Linked DNA regions of Homo sapiens: region 2 is linked to region 1. The links are contacts of gene promoters, found by promoter capture Hi-C in blood cells and fetal thymus (Javierre and others, 2016). All regions are on one chromosome and are shown on one strand. The core of a region is centred on a gene start or on the middle of the fragment in contact, and the rest is flanking DNA. Distances in the headings are between cores, read along the strand shown. Region 1 holds the start of OTOF (otoferlin). Region 2 has its middle 11 kb from the start of SLC35F6.

What was found. The method cuts DNA at HindIII sites, captures the fragments that hold promoters and counts their contacts. A CHiCAGO score of 5 or more calls a contact.
Region 2: a contact is called between a fragment that was not itself captured here and the fragment with the promoter of OTOF in region 1, in 2 of 17 cell types (M0 macrophages and M1 macrophages). The highest score is 5.7, in M0 macrophages.

Annotation. Positions count from the first base shown.
Region 1 is chr2:26,556,234-26,560,057 of GRCh38, reverse strand. It overlaps OTOF (otoferlin), which reads left to right and starts at 1,302. Exons shown (of 47, transcript NM_194248.3): 1 at 1,302-1,565. The coding sequence starts at 1,487. RefSeq lists enhancers at 355-1,147, 1,148-1,941. The HindIII fragment of the contact is 8,824 bases long and covers 1-3,824 here.
Region 2 is chr2:26,751,676-26,755,679 of GRCh38, reverse strand. No RefSeq gene overlaps it. Among named protein-coding and RNA genes, the nearest start is that of SLC35F6, 11 kb to the left of the region's middle. RefSeq lists enhancers at 400-1,147, 1,148-1,895, 1,896-2,643. The HindIII fragment of the contact is 1,461 bases long and covers 1,452-2,912 here.

The sequences.
Region 1 (3,824 bases), core at 53-2,552:
AGCAAGGAAATATCTAGAAGGAGGAAAGAAGGCTCTTGGGACATACTGTAGGTTATTTGGAATGCAGAATTCAAAAGAAGTAACCTCTTGTTACCATGCTGTGAAAAATTAGTATTTCTCTTTTTAACCTTTAGACTCTGTTTCAGGTAGATCCCTGAGCTCACTCTTTTATCCTTTCAACAGTAATTGGGCATCCTACGGTGCACAGGATACCATGTGGGGCTCTGGGGTAGAGGGATGCTGTGCTCCAGGGCCCTCCTGAGGTCAGGAGGGGAAAAGGCAAGGGAAGCAGCCCCAGGACTCAGTAAGATGAGAGGAGGCAGGAGCAGCACAGAGGAGGACCCCAACCCAGCTGGGGTGCGGGTACAGAGGCACCTCCAGGAGCAGGCACTCAAGCTGAGTCCAGGGTGGGGTGGAGGGCATTCCACCAAGAATGAATAGCAAGAACAAGGCTGCAGATGACCCTGCACAGATTCCAGCATCAGGGATTCTGGCCCCCAGCGTCCCTTTCCTTGGTGTATGCTGCTGGAAGACAGGAGGGGGCAGTTCTCTTTTGGTCCTTAGAAATTTCCCTATAGACATCCCTTCTCCTGCCCCTAGCAGCTTATAACAGCAGAAGGCCATTCAATTCTGCTCCTCTGGCTGGAAAGCAAACATCAGCCTGGCTTACCTTCGCTAGCCTGCCTGACCCCCAGCCTTGGGGTGGGGCTAGGTTAGTGCCCTGGATCCTTAAACATGGCCCCTGGTAGCACATAAGCCTCTGCTGCCTCCACAACCAGCCATCTCCATCATGCATGGCCTGGTCCTGAGCCTCCCCTCAGGCAGCAGCCCCAGCCTCTCTGCTTCCTGAGATTCAGAAACAGGGATCCCAGGGCAGGGCTCAGGGCCCAGCCTCTTGGGGGCACAGTCTCCAGCAGGGAAGAGGTGGGCGTAGGTGGACAAATACATTCCCTTCTTCTTGTAGTGTGCCCCTGTGGGTGGGAGTGCCCCCCGCCCCACATCCACCCTACCTATGCTCATGCCCACTCCTCTGTGCCCACTACTGGTGGCAGGGCTTGCTTAGCAGGGAAGCAGCAGAGCCCTGCAGAGGGGTGGGCAGAGCCTCCCTTCCAGGAGCTGGGAGAAGACACCTGAAGCTGGACAGAGCTTTATCTGGGAGCCGGCGGCTGCTGAATAATGAATTCCAACTCTGCCGCACTCCCAGGCTGCACATTGGGTGCACACACACACACACACACACGCACACACCGATACACACACGCTGGGCTGACAACTTGGAGGGGCGGGGGCTGTGAGGCTCTGTGAGTCGCTGCAGGAGCAGCTTAGCTCGGCTTGGTTGCCTTGGTCTCTGTGGGCAGCATCGGAGGGGGGTCGGGAGGAGGAGGAGGAGGCAGCGGCAGAGAAGAGAGAGGCGTGTGAGCCGTGCTCCACCGGCTAGCTCCTTCCCGCTGCTCCTGCCTGGCAGTGCCAGGCAGCCCACACCAGCATGGCCTTGCTCATCCACCTCAAGACAGTCTCGGAGCTGCGGGGCAGGGGCGACCGGATCGCCAAAGTGACTTTCCGAGGTAGGGAAGCCGCTGTCTCAGAGGGACGCCAGCTCTGAGAGCTGGACCAGCCCATGCTCTGGAGGTGGCCGGGGATAGGACAGGGCTGGGAGGATGGGTGGGAAAAGTTCTAGCAGGGGCTGGGGCGACGAGCCTTTTCACAGGTAGTCATCTGCCTGGGACTGACTGGCCATTGTGATTTCTGGAAAATCAGGGTCCCCTGTTCTTCCATGCCTGTGTCTCCTTGTGCTTGCCAACATGCCAGTTCCCCGGGCAGGGCACAGAGCCCTCTGCCTGGGGAGGCAGAAGTGAGGACCACATCCCTGAGCTCAGGGAGACCCAGGACCCCCTCCTTCTCTCTCTCTCCCTCTCCTGCAGGTTGATTTCCTTGAGCACAGGGTGGGGGCCGGGTATGGAGCCTGGGGCACCCAGGGTGACTGGGAGAAACCAGGCAGCCAGTAGCTCCCTGGGCCCCAGAGTGATGGGGGACACTGTTGGCTTCTTTTAGATCTATTCATGGGCGGGAACCCCGGGAGCCCCTCGCCTCTCTTCTGTCTGGTCTTTTCTCATCCTTTTCACTCCTGTATTCAGCGACCATTTATTATGATCTACTGTGTCCCAAGGATAGGGGTAGAAACACAGAGCTGAGCACAACCCAGCCCCAGCCCCAAGGAGCCTGCATCTGTTGGGCAGGCGTGGAACAAGCAGGACAGGTATGTGAGACAGAAGGTGGGGGTGCAGCATGCAAGCTACAGAAGCAGCACCCTCACCCAGGCTGGTGACCGGTGGTCAGGGAAGGCTTCCCGGAGGAAGTAACACTCAGCTAATACCCGAAGGACCAGCGGGTGGGAGCTAGGAGAGGAGGTAAGGACTGAGGAGGCAGAGGAAACAGTGTGCCCAGAGCTGAGAGAGGAGCTGAAACTCTGGAACTGAAAGAGGTTCCATGTGTCTACAGCTCAGAGAGGGTGCAGGAGCGGAGGCCAGAGAGCCAAGCAGGGCAAGGAGGCGAGGCTGGACCTGACCCCGGGGACAGCGGAGCCCCTGAGCATTTTAAGTGGGGAAAGGCAGGGCCAGGCTGACTCTGTCCTTCACCACCCACCTCTGCCTCTCCATGTGGTTGCTGCCCAGCCCTGAGGGTTGGGGGTACTTCTCACTAGACATGGCCCCTTCTCCCGAGAGAGGGGTCTGAGAGTGGGATGGGGACGAGGTGGTGAGAAGGGGGCAGAGAGGACCCCCCTATACTAAAGAGCAAAGTGAGCCTTGGGGCCCAGGCTGGACACAGTGTCTGCACCTCTGTTGGAAGGGATGGGAGAGACCATTGGCAGAACATTCCAGCAAGAGCCCTGGGGCACCCACATCACCTACCCAGAGGCCCTGGGATGCCCACATTGCAGCTTGTGTTCATAGGGACAGGCAGGGGTGGAGGTGATGGCAGTGGCCCTGCCGGCAGGCGGAGGTTAGGCAGGAGGGAGAGGGAGGTGTGGGCTGGGCTGCCTTTTGCCTCCCACCCCAACCCACTGACTGCTTTCTCTGCAGCACCCTGGATCTCCCTCTGTGTGCCACCTGCAGGCTCATGCTGGCTTTAGAAAAAGCAAATGTGTCCTTTCATCTGTGAAATGTGGCCCTGAGCTCCACGGGCAGCATAGTGTGGGGCGGTTAAGCTACAGGTTGCCATCCTGCTGCAGCTGTGCTGGAACGGTCCAGGCTGCACCGGACAGGCCCACTTGCAGGCCGAGAAACCAAGGTTCAGGGGTAGAACACTGCGCGTGGCATTCACGGAGGAGCTGAGGCACGGTGGTCCCAGCTCTCAGGACCTCATCCTGAGTACTCAATCTTGCAAGCTCTTTATCTGCTCCTGGGCCACCTGGGGGCCAGCACCTTGTCTGACACCCATCTTCTCCTTGGAGCAGTGAAGGGCTGGGCCTTTAGCCTCACTGACCACACAGGAATTAGTTTATTTGCAACCCTTGCTCTCTGGACTGAGTGGAGAAATCGCTTCCAAGCTCCACATTGGCAGGAGGTGGCCATGGGCAGAGCTCCTGGGGAAGGGGGCTGGGCAGCAGGAATAGGCAGATGACAAGCAGTTTCCAGAAAGTACCTTTATTACAACGAAAGATGCCTCAGCCGCTCACCTGTGTCATCTAGCAGTTCACAGTTGTAGGCGCCCCAAAAGACCAACACTGACCACAATTCAGAGGGAATGGACCCGCTCTACAATGTTCCTTAGCATCTCCCAGCACATGCAACCACTGGGGGCCAAGCAAGTCCTCTGCAGGGGGA
Region 2 (4,004 bases), core at 933-3,432, 190 kb before region 1:
CCGCTGTGCCTTCAAAAGCACTCCTCATGGTTTGCATACGAGTTTGATCCAGACTTCCAGCCTTTTCTCCCAAAGTTGGGGACATTTTGAACACATTTGCATGCTACCTGCAAGCAGGCTCTAACTTCCAGTCACTGCAAACCCTGCATTTGTATTCAATGCTTACTGCCAGCATGTGGCTTGTCTGAAAGACTGAATGCTTTCCCAATCAATGTAATTACATTCTGGATTAAGAGAGAGTTGCTTTACCCTGGAAAGGACAGAAAGATGCGGGCAGACAAGCCAGGTCACACCTGCTTTTGTTTTTTCTTTAAACAAGCTTTTGCTGTGTATCCTTGGGCCATTTCTCTCCAGTGTAGTCTACTCCCTGGCTAGAATGTGACTTCCTCCTGGGCAAGGACTGGGTATCTTGCTGCCTGTCTCTCCCAGCGGGGTTGGTATTGATGGGCAGTCACCTGGAACTGTGGCTAGAAAGAGGAACAAGAGGCTTGAGAGGAAGAGGACTGGGGTGGATTCCGGCTGGAAGCAGGTCTGACAAGACTAGATCTTGGAGGAAGGGAGTGTGGACTGTCTACACTGGCAGAGAGGCATAGATATTGGAGCTCATCAGCTCATTCTGGCTGAATTTACAGCTGGTTTCTATGGTGACCAGAGATGATCAGATTATAACTCACCTGCTCCTTCTAGCTGCAGGCCCTCCTAAAGTCATTCTCAAACCTTCTCTTTTTTCTTTCTTTTTTAATTTAATTTTTTTTTTTAGATGGAGTCTTTCTCTATCACCCAGGCTGGAGTACAGTGGCACAATCTCGACTTACTGCAACCTCCACCTCCTGGGTTCAAGCAATTCTCCTGCCTTAGCCTCCCAAGTAGCTGGGATTACACGCGTGCACCACCAAGCCTGGCTAACTTTTGGATTTGTAGTAAAGACAGGGTTTCATCATCATGTTGGCCATGCTGGTCTCAAACTCCTGACCTCAAGGTCTTGGCCTCTCAAAGTGCTAGGATTACAGGCATGAGCCACTACATCTGGCCTCTGTTTTCTTTCTTATCATCTCCTTTGGTCTCTACCCACCTCCCCGCTCCCACCTCTCACCCCCATCAGTGCTGATCACTAATCTTTTTTTTTTTGAAACAAGGTCTCACTCTGTTACCCAGATTGGAGTGCAGTGATACGAACTCGGCTCACTACAACCTCTGCCTCCCAGGTTCAAGCAATTATCCTGCCTCAGCCTCCCGAGTAGCTGGGACTACAGGTGACTGCCACCATGCCTGGCTAATTTTTGTCTTTTTAGTAGAGATGCAGTTTCACCATGTTGGCTAGGCTGGTCTCGAACTCCTGACCTCAGGTGATCTACCCGCTTCGGCCCCCTGAAGTGTTGGGATTACAGGTGTGAGCCACCACGACCAGCCCTGATCACTAATTTTGAGGTGGTCATTAGATTCTGGAAGCTTGGTCCTCTAAGAGCAGGATCAAGTCAGATTCAGATAAAACAGAAACTCCCAGGTAAATTTGATTTCAGATAAGCAATGAGTCACTTTGTAGTATGAGTATGTCCCTAGTGTTTAGGACATACTTATGAAGCTGTCCTCACAGGCTTAACAAGAATCTTGGACAGAAATATAGTTATAATTAAGCATAATGAGGCTGCACTTTCACCCACTTCCTTGTAACAGAAAGTCGCATAGCACTAGATACTGACCACTTGAATCCCCATTGTTCCTTTAGATTGGATCTCTGACATTAGAATCATAAGGCTTGGCTGGGCCTGTGATCCCAGCATTTTGGGAGGCTGAGGCAGGTGGATCGTTTGAACTCAGTGACCAACCTGGCCAACGTGACAAAACCCCGTCTCTACAAAAAATACAAAAAATAGCCAGGTGTGGTGGATTTGTGCCTATAGTCCTAGCTATTCGGGAGGCTAAGGTAGGAGCATCACCTGAGCCTGGGGAGGTTGAAGCTATAGTGAGCCATGATTGTGCCACTGCACTCCAGCCTGGGCAACAGAGTGAGACCATCTCAAAAAAAAAAAAAAAAAGAATCATAAGGGTTTTGTTTAAGAATTGCTTAAGATGTTTTTCAGGTCCCTGAATTCCAGTGAAACAGCTGATGCCAACCAGTTTGAAGACCTCCACAGAGGAATGAAAGCAACATAAGAATAGTTTCTTCATTTCCTTGTCCCATGACTTCATGCACTCTTTGCCTAATCAACGATCTCCCCACTTCAGCCCTCTCCAAAACCCTTAAAAACCCTAGCCCCAGGCCAGGCGAAGTGGCTTACACCTGAAATCCCAGCACTTTGGGAGGCCAAGGTGGGAGGATTGCTTGAGCCCAGGAGACCAGTCTAGGCAACAAAGTGAGACCCTGTCTCTATTAAAAAAAAAAAAATTTTAACCAGGCATGGGCACACGCCTGTGATACTAGCTGTATGGGAGGCTGAGGCAGAGGATTGTTTGAGCCCAGGAGGTCGAGCTCCAGCGAGCCATTTTTGCGCCACTGCACTCCAGCCTGGGTAACAGAGAGAGACCCTGTCTCAAAAAAAACAAAAAACAAACAACAAAAAACCCCCAGCCCCTGACTCCCTGGGGAGATAGATTTGAAGTTTCCTCCCTGTCTTCTCAGTGGACCTGTATTAAACCTCTTTCTCTGCTGCAACCCCGTGTCTGGGTGTATTGATTTGACAGGAGTGTCAGGCAATTAACCTATTACAGTTACGCTTAGAGTAAAAAATGATTCATTATTTGTCTAAAATTCAAATTAGATATGTATCCTGCATTTCATTTCTCAGTCTGGCACCCTGCTGGTCTGGCATCCAGCTCAGAGCCCTTGCTCAGAGACAGTGACTATGACAACAGCTAATTGAATTAGTGCATCTCAGGCACATTTTCCTTTCTAATATGCTGTTGACTAAGCTTACGATATTTTCTCCCTCTGACTCAGTTACATCTCTAAATTGATACCAGCCCCCTTGGACATGGCCTTCACCCTAGGGAAGCCTAGGTTCCTGTATTTAACACCATTCTCTTTTTTTAATTTTTTAAAAAATGTGTTATTTTTAAAAAAATAGAGACAGGGTGTTGCTATGTTGCCCAAGCTGGTCTTGAACTCCTGAGCTCAAATGATCCTTGTCCTTTGGCCTCACAAAGTGCTGGGATTACAGATGTGAGCCACTGCACCCAGCCCTGTATTTAACACACATCTAGAAAATTCGGAGCACAGACAGATTGAGAACACTTTCCTCTTTTGCATACAGTTTCAGGGTATTCCCAGGTCTCATGAAGCCCAGGCGTGGATTGCCCCTGACATAACTTCTTATCCAACCCCCCGCTTTTCAGAATAGAAAACCCAGGCCCAGAAAGAAGGTGACTTGCTCAGGTCAATAGCAAATGACTGTGAGCTAGTCAACTCCCTGTATTTATTTATTTGGCTTAGATTTATATGAACTAGTTTAAACCTGATAGTAATAAAAAAATTCACTGGCCCTACAAATGCTTAATTACATTTAAAGTAATACAACTTATGAACCAATGAACTGTAAAAAGATATTTTTGGCCAGGCGTGATGGCTCACGTCTGTAATCCTAGCACTTTGGGAGGCCGAGGCAGGAGGATCACTTGAGTCCAGGAGTTCCAAACCAGCCTGGGCAACGTGGTGAAACCCCATCTCTACAAAAGATAAAAAATTAGCTGGGCATGGTGGCACGTGCCTGTAGTCCCAGGCTGAGGTGGGAGGATCACCTGAGCCTGGAGAGGTTGAGGCTGCAGTGAGCCATGATCGTGCCACTGTACTCCAGCCTGGGCAGTAGAGTGAGACCCCCACCTCACAAAAAAAAAAAAGATTTTTTTGAACTTTTGGGAGAAAGTAAAAATGATCTATAGAACAAGTTCTCTCGCTAGTTTTATTGGTTGTATTAGCTTCCTGTTGCTGCTATAATTACCACAAACAGAGTGAGTGACTTCCAGCAACAGAAACTTATTATCATACAATTCTGGTGGGTAGAAGTCTG